Regions from separate parts of the Homo sapiens genome. Here regions 2 and 3 are each linked to region 1. The links are contacts of gene promoters, found by promoter capture Hi-C in human tissues and cell types (Jung and others, 2019). All regions are on one chromosome and are shown on one strand. The core of a region is centred on a gene start or on the middle of the fragment in contact, and the rest is flanking DNA. Distances in the headings are between cores, read along the strand shown. Region 1 holds the start of SUMO3 (small ubiquitin like modifier 3). Region 2 holds the start of CSTB (cystatin B). Region 3 holds the start of PKNOX1 (PBX/knotted 1 homeobox 1).

Evidence for each region. Contacts are between HindIII fragments. The study calls those that stand out against the background at their distance.
Region 2: the fragment with the promoter of CSTB here is called in contact with the fragment with the promoter of SUMO3 in region 1 in 1 of the 25 tissues and cell types used here (dorsolateral prefrontal cortex).
Region 3: a contact is called between the fragment with the promoter of PKNOX1 here and the fragment with the promoter of SUMO3 in region 1, in 1 of the 25 tissues and cell types used here (spleen).

Annotation. Positions count from the first base shown.
Region 1 is chr21:44,816,535-44,820,030 of GRCh38, forward strand. It overlaps SUMO3 (small ubiquitin like modifier 3), which reads right to left and starts at 1,528. Exons shown (of 4, transcript NM_006936.3): 1 at 1,414-1,528. The coding sequence starts at 1,434. RefSeq lists silencers at 1,060-1,259, 1,440-2,019, 2,040-2,139. The HindIII fragment of the contact is 28,474 bases long and covers 1-3,496 here.
Region 2 is chr21:43,774,858-43,777,557 of GRCh38, forward strand. It overlaps CSTB (cystatin B), which reads right to left and starts at 1,451. Exons shown (of 3, transcript NM_000100.4): 1 at 1,347-1,451. The coding sequence starts at 1,412. RefSeq lists a silencer at 1,030-2,029. The HindIII fragment of the contact is 5,981 bases long and covers 1-2,700 here.
Region 3 is chr21:42,972,772-42,976,253 of GRCh38, forward strand. PKNOX1 (PBX/knotted 1 homeobox 1) reads left to right here and starts at 1,791. Exons shown (of 11, transcript NM_004571.5): 1 at 1,791-1,893. RefSeq lists silencers at 979-1,138, 1,449-1,838, 1,969-2,288, 2,429-2,628 and an enhancer at 2,590-3,316. The HindIII fragment of the contact is 23,812 bases long and covers 1-3,482 here.

The sequences.
Region 1 (3,496 bases), core at 278-2,777:
CAGGCCAGTATCAGAGACAGCCTCTTTACAGAGCCTTCAGCTCTAGTCATCTTCCACTGGGATGTAACATAGAGGCCGACAGTGCACACCAAGGGCTTCGGAAAGGTTCTCTTTTTATGAACACTGGAGAATGCGACTACAGACCCTCCCGAGAAGGAATGGCCAGTGCACCTGAATGCAGGGTGCATACCCCAGGACTGAGACTGGAGGGAGGCACACCCCAGCATGGCAATGGGGGAGACTAAAGCCCACCCAAGGCTGGATAAGGAGGGGTGGGCGCGCATGGTGGGGGAGGCGCAATGCAGAGAAGTGGGCGCACACCGTGGGGCGTGATAGGGAGGGGTGGGCACACACTATAGGGGGCGTGATGGGGAGGGGTGGGCGCACATCGTGGAGGGGGTGATGGGGAGGGGTGGACGCACACTGGGGGTGTGATGGAAAGGGGGACGCGATGGATAGGGGTGGGCGCACACTGGGGGACGCGACGGGGAGGGGTGAGCACACACTGGGGGTGTGATGGAGAGGGCGACGCAATAGGGAGGGGTGGGCGCACACCAGGGACGCGATGATGGGGACGGGTGGGCGCACACCAGGTGGCATGATGGGGAGGAGTGGGTACACACCATGGGGGGCGTGATGGGGAGGCGTGGGCGTACACCGGGGGGCGCGATGGGGAGGGGTGGGCGCACACCGGGGGACGCGATGGAGGCGGTGGGTGCACACGGGGCGCGATGGGTGGGAGTAGGTGCACACTGAGGGCACGATTGGGGAGACACGAAGGAGAGGGGTGGGCGCACACTGGGGGACGCGATGGCCGGGACACGATGCGGAGAAGTGGGTGAATACCGGGGTCGCGATGGGCGCCCTGGAAGGACGGCAGTGCTGCTCACAGGGGCCAGGCCCCTCAGAGCGCGCCCCTTGGGGGTAACCCCAGACGCTTGTTCCCGAGCCGACTCCGTGCACTCGACACAGGATCCCGCACCCAGGGCGATGCCGGGGGAGAGGGCGACCCCAACCAGCAATGACTCAGGAGAGGAGCACGCAAAGACGCTTCGGGGACACTGCTGGGGCGGGATCCGAGGGCGCCGCGCTCTGCAGGAGCAGCAGCGCGGGGCCCGACACCGGGCGCTCAAGGAGGCGCTGGGCGCGCGCCTTCCCAGCTGGGGAGGAGACGGGCGTGGAGCGGAGGCGTGGCCAGGCCCGGAGGGGGCGGAGCTCGCGGCACAGCGCGCTTCGCGGGGGCAGAGGGGGCGCACCTTGGGCGGGCCCACTTAGGGGCGGGGCTCTAGAGGGCGGGGAGGGGCGGAGCCTGTCAGGGGCGGGACGCGGGGCGGAGTCGGGGTGGGGGCGGAGCCGGGCTGGGGGCGGGACGCCCGCGATAGACGCGCGTGCAGGCGGGGTCGCCGCGCTTACCTTGGGCTTCTCCTCGGACATGGCTGCGCGAGCGGCGCGGGGAGGCGGCGCGGGGGAAGCAGCGCGGAGCGGGCGAGTCACGCTCTCGGCCCCGCCGCTCTCCCGCCGCAACTGTGCGCGGGGCCGCGCTTTATCCCCCAAATCCCGGCGCACCCGTTGGCCGGCACGGGGGTCACGTGGCTGCGCGCGTTCACGAGGCGCGCTCCCCGGGGCGTCGGGCGCGCGCAGGCCGGGCCGCGGCTCTGGGCGGTTGGAGATGCGTCACGGGGCGGGTCCCGCGCGACCCCGTCGGGCGCGGAAGCCCTAGGGCGCTGTGGGGCGCGGGCCAGGAGCGTTTACGGGGAGCCCGGGCCCTGGGGACCCTTGCCCGCCTCCCCGCGTCGCCCGGGCCCCGACTCCTTTCCTGGGGGCCGCGTTCCTGGGGCGCCGGGAAGTGAGGCCGGGGCCGCCGCCCATGGCCGCAGGGACCTGGGGCGGAGGAGGGAGGACGCTGGGGGTGACGTTCCCTCTCAGGAGCCGCGGACAGAGCGGAGAAGGCGGCCCGCGGGGTCCCGTCCGCGGGGGCCGCGCGAATCGGGCCAGCACCCTAGACGATTGGGGGCGCCACCCGCCTCCCTGCCGCCGCGGTTTCCTGTCAGCCCCAGGCCGGGCTCCTTTGGCCAACGCTCCTACGGGGCTGCCCCGGGCCCTCCACACCCGTCCTCAAGAAGACCCGTTTTACCTGTGAAGAAACTGAGGCACTGGGAGGTCAAACCACCCCCAGGTCAGCGCTGGTGAGCGGCGCCGAGCTTGGCCAGGCCGCCACGTCGGCGAGCGCGGGCAAACCCAGGCTGGACGCCGCCAGTGCCGGCGGAACGGGGACCTCGTGGACGCGGGAAACGCGCTGGGCCGGCAGGACGGCCTCCCCGGACTTGCGGGCGCCATTCCTGGGGTGCCTGGCCCGCCCCGGCCTCCATGTCTGTGATCCCAGGGCCTCGGATGGAACGGACCTGAGGGCGGACACCCCTGCGTCCCTCAGGAGTGCCCGGGTGGTGCCAGCCGGGGCGTGGCGGAGGTCTCATCTGATGGTGAGCCCGGCCGAAGGCGGGGGAGGCCGCACTTCAGGCTCAGCTGGGAAATGGCAGGGCCTGGATTTGAACCTAAGCGTCTGAGCCGTTTCTGTCCTGCCTGGGAAAGGCTCAGCCAACTGAGCAACGTCGCAAAGCCATGGAGACAAGTCTTCATGGACCATAACTTCACAAACCGTCTTCTACTCAAAAATTCACTTTCTTGGCTAGAGCCCCCACTTAGGAGGGGGAAGGCTGCTGAAGTCTTTCGGGGAGAGGGTCTGAGAGTCAGCCCCAGTCCCAGGCAGGTCATAAGGTGTGGTCCCTTCCTTCTGGAACCTGGAGCCCAGGGCCTCAGCAGAGGATGTGGAGGTGGGTGGCCAGCTCAGACGGTCCTGGGAGGGGGCTCCGCAACCAGCCCCTTCCGAGGGGACGTGGCGCCTCAGAGCCCACAGATTGCTGGCCCTGGAAGTGCCCTAGGGCAGGCAGGGTTCAGAGAGTTATCGACTCCAAGACACCGTTAATCATAAAACAACACGACCGTAGGTAGCACAGACACACTAAACTCCGGCAGGCTGTGGATGACGGCAGCCCGCTTCAGTGTTGTGGAAGTGAGAAACACGCAGCTTAGAAATCATGAGACACAGAACCCAAATGTGTTACCGCTCGAAATTACGCCAGTTGCTGTGTCACGAAGTGATGCGTGACTACAGTCATGGATAAGGGAAAAAGAGGCTCAGATGACATTAGGTTTTAAAAAGCCAGGCTATAAGACAATGGTGGTCTGAATTCAATTCATGCTGTGTCTGTCTCCCACACTGTGACCTGCCCCGAATCCTTCATGTGACAGCAAAGATGCAAAAAGGCTCTGTCGCAGCTGTGGGGACACAAAGGACACCGCTGGTGGACCGAACGCCAAGAGGTTTCTGAAGGACACAGCCAAAGGGGATCGAATGGACGGAGGAACCAGAGCTCAGGAAAAACCGTGGCCTACCACGAGCACAGGGTAAAGAACCCAAATGGCCAGAGCCCCTCCG
Region 2 (2,700 bases), core at 201-2,700, 1.0 Mb before region 1:
ACTGGCTCTTCACACAATTGTCTCTTACAACTGAAGGGACATTTAAACTGTCAGCCTAATAATAAAGTAGAAAAAAACAGTTCCAGCTGGGTACGGTGGCTCAAGGATGTAATCCCAGAACTTTGGGAGGCTGAGGTGGGCGGATCACTTGAGGTCAGGAGTTTGAGACCAGCCTAGCCAAATGGCAAAACCCCGTTTCTACTAAAAATACAAAAATTAGCTGGGCGTGGTGGCGAGCACCTGCAATCCCAGCTACTCGGGAGGCTAAGGCAGGAGAATCCCTTGAACCTGGGAAGCGGAGGTTGCAGTGGGCCGAGATTGTGCCACTGCACTCCACCCTGGGCAAGAGTGAGACTGAGTCTCAAAAACAAAAAAAAAAAACACAGGCCTCAGCATCGCCTGGACCTGTTCTTGCTTGGGGCATCCCGTCGGTCACCAACCATGACAGCGAGGCGGGCCTGGCCTGTGCTCCACCGGAGGGGGCTTCTTGCACAGATGACCTGCTCATTTCAGCCCCTCCAGAATCTTCTGGCAGGCGCAGAGCAACAGGACGTCCATTTTACAGACGAGGAAACCGAGACACAGGGAAGGTTGCCATCTGCAACCCAGCCCGGTTTTTATCTTGTTTTTCTGTGTTTTAACTTTTTATTTAGACTTACAGTTTGAAACAGTGCTAGAATCGGAAGCATGTAAAGAAACCTGTGGACCTTTTATGCAGATACACTTAAGTTTTTAACCCATGTGCCTTATCACTGGGGACCTCTTGCACTCTCTCTCATGATTTTTTTCCCGAACTAGATGAGGATATTGACAAAGATTCTTGCTTGGCCAAACTGTAGTCGGGCTCCTGAAGCGCCTAGGCCACCTGCGCACTTCCTTGTAAAATCCACTTTTAGCAAGAAGCCTGGCTAAGTCAGTTTAGCCAGACCCTTCCCACCCGCTTGCTATCGGATCACCGTGGAGATCGGAGCCGGCTGCTCACCTGCGCCATCGCCGGCGACGCCCGATCACCCTGCCTGCCTGAAACCAGAAGCGCCTCATCCCTGGGGTTTCCTCTCAGAGACTGTCCATGCAGGGACCGCACCCTGCTCCGGGCTATCAATTCCCACTCGCCCTTGCTGTATTCAGCGGAGCCCAATGTCTCCCCAGCGGCGCCCCAGGCGCGGCCCCCCGCTGCTCACTCGCGCGCAGCGCCCGAGCGGAGGGAGGCCTCTCACGGCCACAGCCCGGGCCAGCCCAGGGGTGCGCAGCGGGGCCAAAGCGGCTTCTTTCGCTCCAGGAGCCGCGGCCGCGCCCTGAGGCTAAGGCAGGACTCCGGGCCGGCCCCGTCCCCGCGGCCCACCCACCTGGTCGGCGATGTGCTGGGTCTCGGCGGTGGCCGGCTGCGTGGCGGAGGGCGCCCCGCACATCATCTTGGCGGCGACGGAGGGAATCTGGCGAGGGGACTCGGCGAGGGGACGCGGCGGCTCCTCAGCCCAAGTAGGCGCTGGGGTCACGTGACGCGCGGGCGGAACCAAGGGGCGGGGAGGAGGCACTTTGGCTTCGGAGTCCCCTGCGGGGTCGCGGTGGCCCCGCAAGAAGGGACGCGCGGGGCGGGGCGCGGGGCGGGGCGCGGGGCGGGGAACCTGGCCACCACTCGCCGCAGGCTGGGTCTCCGCGCCCAGCGCTGGTGTCGGGAGGGAGCGCCCCCCTCCCGGGGCTGGTATCGTCTTTCCGGGCGCCGAGTCACACGGACCGGGGCGGGGGCGCGGCCGGGTGTCGCCGGTGGGTTGGGCGCGCAGGGTGGGACGATAGGGAAGGGGCAGTCGGAGTAGGCGCAATCCTGCAGGGTGGCGGGGTCCGGGCCGCGCACGAGGGAGGGCGGGGCGCAGCGCTGCAGGGGTCAGGGGTCAGGGGTCCCGGCCCCGCGGGAGCAGGTGTGCGGGCTGCAGTGGACATCACCGCTTGTGACCGAGAACACTGAAGGCTGAAGGGGGTGGACAGAGGGGCCCAGGGAGGGGGAGACGGCGCCCACGCGCTCCAGGCTGGGTGGGGGCAGGGGGTAGATCAGAGGGATGAGAAGAAGGCAGGGTTCTCTGGTGGAATTTGCGTTTTAGGATTTCTTTTCTTTCTTTCCTTTTCTTTTCTTTTTTTTTTTTTTTTTTTTTTTTTGAGACGGAGTCTCGCTCTGTCTCCCAGGCTGGAGTGCAGTGGCGCGATCTCGGCTTACTGCAGGCTCCGCCTCCCGGGTTCACGCCATTCTCCTGCCTCAGCCTCCCGAGTAGCTGGGACTACAGGCGCCCGCCACCACACCTGGCTAATTTTTGTATTTTTAGTAGAGACGGGGTTTCACTGTGTTAGCCAGGATGGTCTCGATCTCCTGACCTTGTGATCCACCCGCCTTGGCCTCCCAAAGTGCTGGGATTACAGGTGTGAGCCACTGCGCCCGGCCTTTTTTTTTTTTTTTTTGAGACGGAGTCTGGATCTGTCGCCTAGGCTGGAGTGCAGTGGCGCAATCTCGGCTCACTGCAAGCTCCGCCTCCGGGGTTCACACCATTCTCCTGCCTCGGCCTCCCGAGTAGCTGGGACTACAGGCGCGCGCCTTCATGCGCAGCTAATTTTTGTGTTTTTAGTAGAGACGGGGTTTCACCATATTGGCCAGGCTGGTCTCGAACTCCTGACCTCGTGATCCACCTGCCTCGGGCTCCCAAAGTGCTGGAA
Region 3 (3,482 bases), core at 541-3,040, 1.8 Mb before region 1:
TCCTGACCTCAAGTAATCTGCCCGCCTTGGCCTCCCCAAAGTGCTGGGATTACTGGCGTGAGCCACTGCGCCCGACCCCTTTTAGGCAATGTAGGGTATCTTCCAAACGTTGCCATGGCATTTGAAAACTGTCATGGCGCTGGCGAGAGTGTGTTTTACCAAGCTCATATATTATAATTAGTGTATAATCAGCAGTGAGGAAGGCCACAGGTCACTTTCCCCGCCATCTTGGTTTTGGTGGGATTTGGCCGGCTTCTTTACTGCATCCTGTTTTATCAGCAGGATCCTTGTGACCTGTGTCTTGTTCCGACCTCCTATCTCATCCGATTACTAAGAACGCCTTAACTCCTGGGGGGTGCGGCCCAGCAGGTCTCAGCTTCAGTTTACCCAGCCCATGTGGAGTCTCTCTGTTCCAACACCTATTGACACTTGCATCTGGATCTTGCACTAGGCTCTGCAGATTATGCTCAGTCTTGAATACTGAGCTTTTTTTGTCCCCTTGAACTTCCCTCCTTGGGCAAGTATCTCAGGGCCTCCCTCTTGCCCACCCTGCTGCTTCCCATCTTTCTGAAAGAGGCGGCTCTGCAGCTGCACAGCACTTGGCCAAGACCTCCTGGCGGTGTGGAGCTCTGAAGACACAGGAGGGATGTCCTCCGAGCTGTTCATGCCTAGACCTACCCCCAGGCTCCCTCTAGCAATCAGCTCCAGTCCTGGGCCTGTCTGCCTTCCGGGAGGAGTGGGGGCCCACAGAGCTGCCCTTCCCGCGCTGTGTATGGACTCAAGGCACTGATGGCCTTCGGTGGGCCACTGCATAAATGGATGTTTCTGCAGTATTGAAGGCCAGTCAGGCAAACCGTGTGCTTTCCTACGCAGTGGGGAATGTGTCGCCCTTTCCTTACATCTTGGAGACCAAAGCCACCATCTGCACTTGTGGGTACATTGTGGCAGTGGTCGGTTAGGGTGGTCTTTCAAAGCAGTTTGAAATGCAGACACTTGTGGGCGTCCCCTAAGGCAGGTGCCCTTTACCTGGAGGCCGCATTGGTCACCTAGACCCGCAAGGCTCACCTGGGCCGGAAGGTGTGGTCAAGCGAGGCCAAGTAGCCCAGAGGCCACCCCTAAGCACCTGTGGACATCATGAGTCCTTGCTGGGGTCCTCACAGAGGGAAGACAGCCCCCAGGGTAAAGCCTCAGGTGCTAAGCACTCGCGCTGCCGCAGGGGGGGAGGCACGTGAGCATCCACTGTGCCGCCCAGGACGGGCCCACCCGGGCTCCAGAGCCTGGGGAGGAAGGCTGCGAGGCTCCCACGGGCTTACATTCAAACCGGGCACACACAGAACGGAGGCCTTCGGCTACGGGACGCCCGGCGGTGGGGTTACGGATGGTACAGCCCTCCCTCCCCGCCTGCTCGAGGCAAATGGTTTCGCCCGGCTACACACACCTCTCCTGGGCGGCAACCGAGGGCGCGGAGGGGGCAAGACGTGCGCTGAGGCCACGCCCCTACTGCATAGTCATAAGGCGGGAGGCTCTGCCTTCGGGGCGGGGCAGACAGCTCCTCGCGCTCGGGCGCGGCCGGTTGGGGGCACGGCCTAGCTCCGGGTGCGGGCGGGGCTGGAGGCGGGGCCGGCCACCGCCCGGTTCCCGCCCTCGCTCTCCTCCCCCAGCGATCAGGCCCCGCCCCGCGCCCGCCGCCGCGCAGGGAGGGGCGGGGCCCGTCTCCGGCAGGCCCCGCCCCCTCTCTGAATATTGATGCGGCGCGCGTCGGCGTCGCCCTCCTCCCATTGAGCGAGGCTGTGTCGCGTGGCCCAGCGTCGGCGTGACGGTTGGACGCGGGCGCGGCACTGCGGGTCCCGATTGCTGCAGCCGCTTGTCAGTGTGATGAAGATTGGCACCCAGGTAAGCTGTCACTCAACCGCTCCGCCGCCGCCGCCGCCGCTCTCGCCGCCGCCGTCCCTATCAATCACACCGGCCCGCGGCCGCCGCCCGCCGCCGCCGCTGCCGCCCGGGTCTGGAGGGCCGGCGCTGCCCTCGAGGGCCCGCATTTGACCCGCCGCCCGGGGCAGGGGGCGGGGAGGGGGCGCGGGTGGGGGAGGGGAGCGGGCACCCGCGGGGGAGGGGGCGCCTTCAGCCCAACCGGCGCGGGGGCGCGCCCAGTTGGTTTCTTAGTGTGGGTTGAGGGACGCGGAAATTTCTGGAAGGCGCCGCCGCCGCCGCGCTGGGCCTGATCGAAGCGCGCGCTCCTAACCGTCCCTTTCGGAGTGCGGCGCGCGCCCCGGCGCGGGGCGGGGGCGCGCGGAGCCCGGCGCGGGCGGGGCGGCGGGCGTGAGGGTCGGGGGCGCGCGGCGGGGCGGGGCCGGGGCGGGCGGCGCGCGTGGGGCCGGTCGGGTCCGCGGCCTCGCGGAGTCCTCAGGGCCGGCGGGGCTGCTCGGAGGGTGCGGGGCGCGCGGCGGCGCAGGCGGGAAGATGGCGGCCGCGACCCCGGCCCCGGCCTCGGCCGTGGCGAGCGGGTGGGTCGGGGTCCTGGGGGCGGTGGGCGTGATGGGGCTCGTGGCCCTCAGCCGGGCGCCGGCGCGGGAGCAGCCCAGGGCCGCTCGCTGACGGCAGTGTTTGGGGCCGGGTGCTGGGGAAGCGGTTCCGGCGTCCCGGGAATTGGTGGGAAGAGCCGCTTCTGTCACACGGGTCGTGGTAATGGATGACAGGAAGTGCCGGGCAGGGTCTGGGCGCCCTGTGGGTTTGCACCTTCCTTGTGAGGGAAATCGTGTCACTTAACGAAAAATGAAGAAACGCGGAGTCTGCTTTATGTCATCCTCGTGGCTCTCGAAATGCCTTATTTGGACAGTGGCTCTGCGACGGGACCAGTTAGGGCCTCCGTTCCGATGGCGGATTCCTGACGGGAGGCCCGAGGGTCCGGGAATGGCGGCGTCCTGAGGTCGGGCCCAGGGCAGGCCAGGCTGAGCGCCACGGCGGGGCCGCAGCCCTGGGGGGTGTTCCACCTGTGTGTGGGGTTCTCTTCCAACTCTACGAGAGTTTGCTTTTTAAAACAGTAGATGATTTTTCCTTAGGAAGTGGTTCCTCTTCAGGATGAAAGAAACCCCCAGCTTTAGTTAGGTCTACTTTCATGATTTTTCCTGGCATACTGAAAAATAGGCTTTCTCTAAACATAAGGAAGAATCGAGGTGAAATGTGAACCTCTGCCAGTATAGTTATTGGTGATGCTCTTGCATTTAGTCATAATTTGGAAGATGGCAGGCTGACCCCAATGAGCCTTTCATCACTCTGCTTAATTTACTTAGAGTGATTTGTGAATCCTGTCCTTGTACACAGGCGTACCTCAGATAATTCGAGTTCTAATCCAGACCACCGCAGTAAAATAAGTATTGCAGTAAAGCAAGTGACGCAACAGTTTTAGGTTTTTCAGTGCATATGAAAGTTGTAATTACAGTATACTACTTAAAGTGTGCAATAGCAAGCATTATATCTATAAA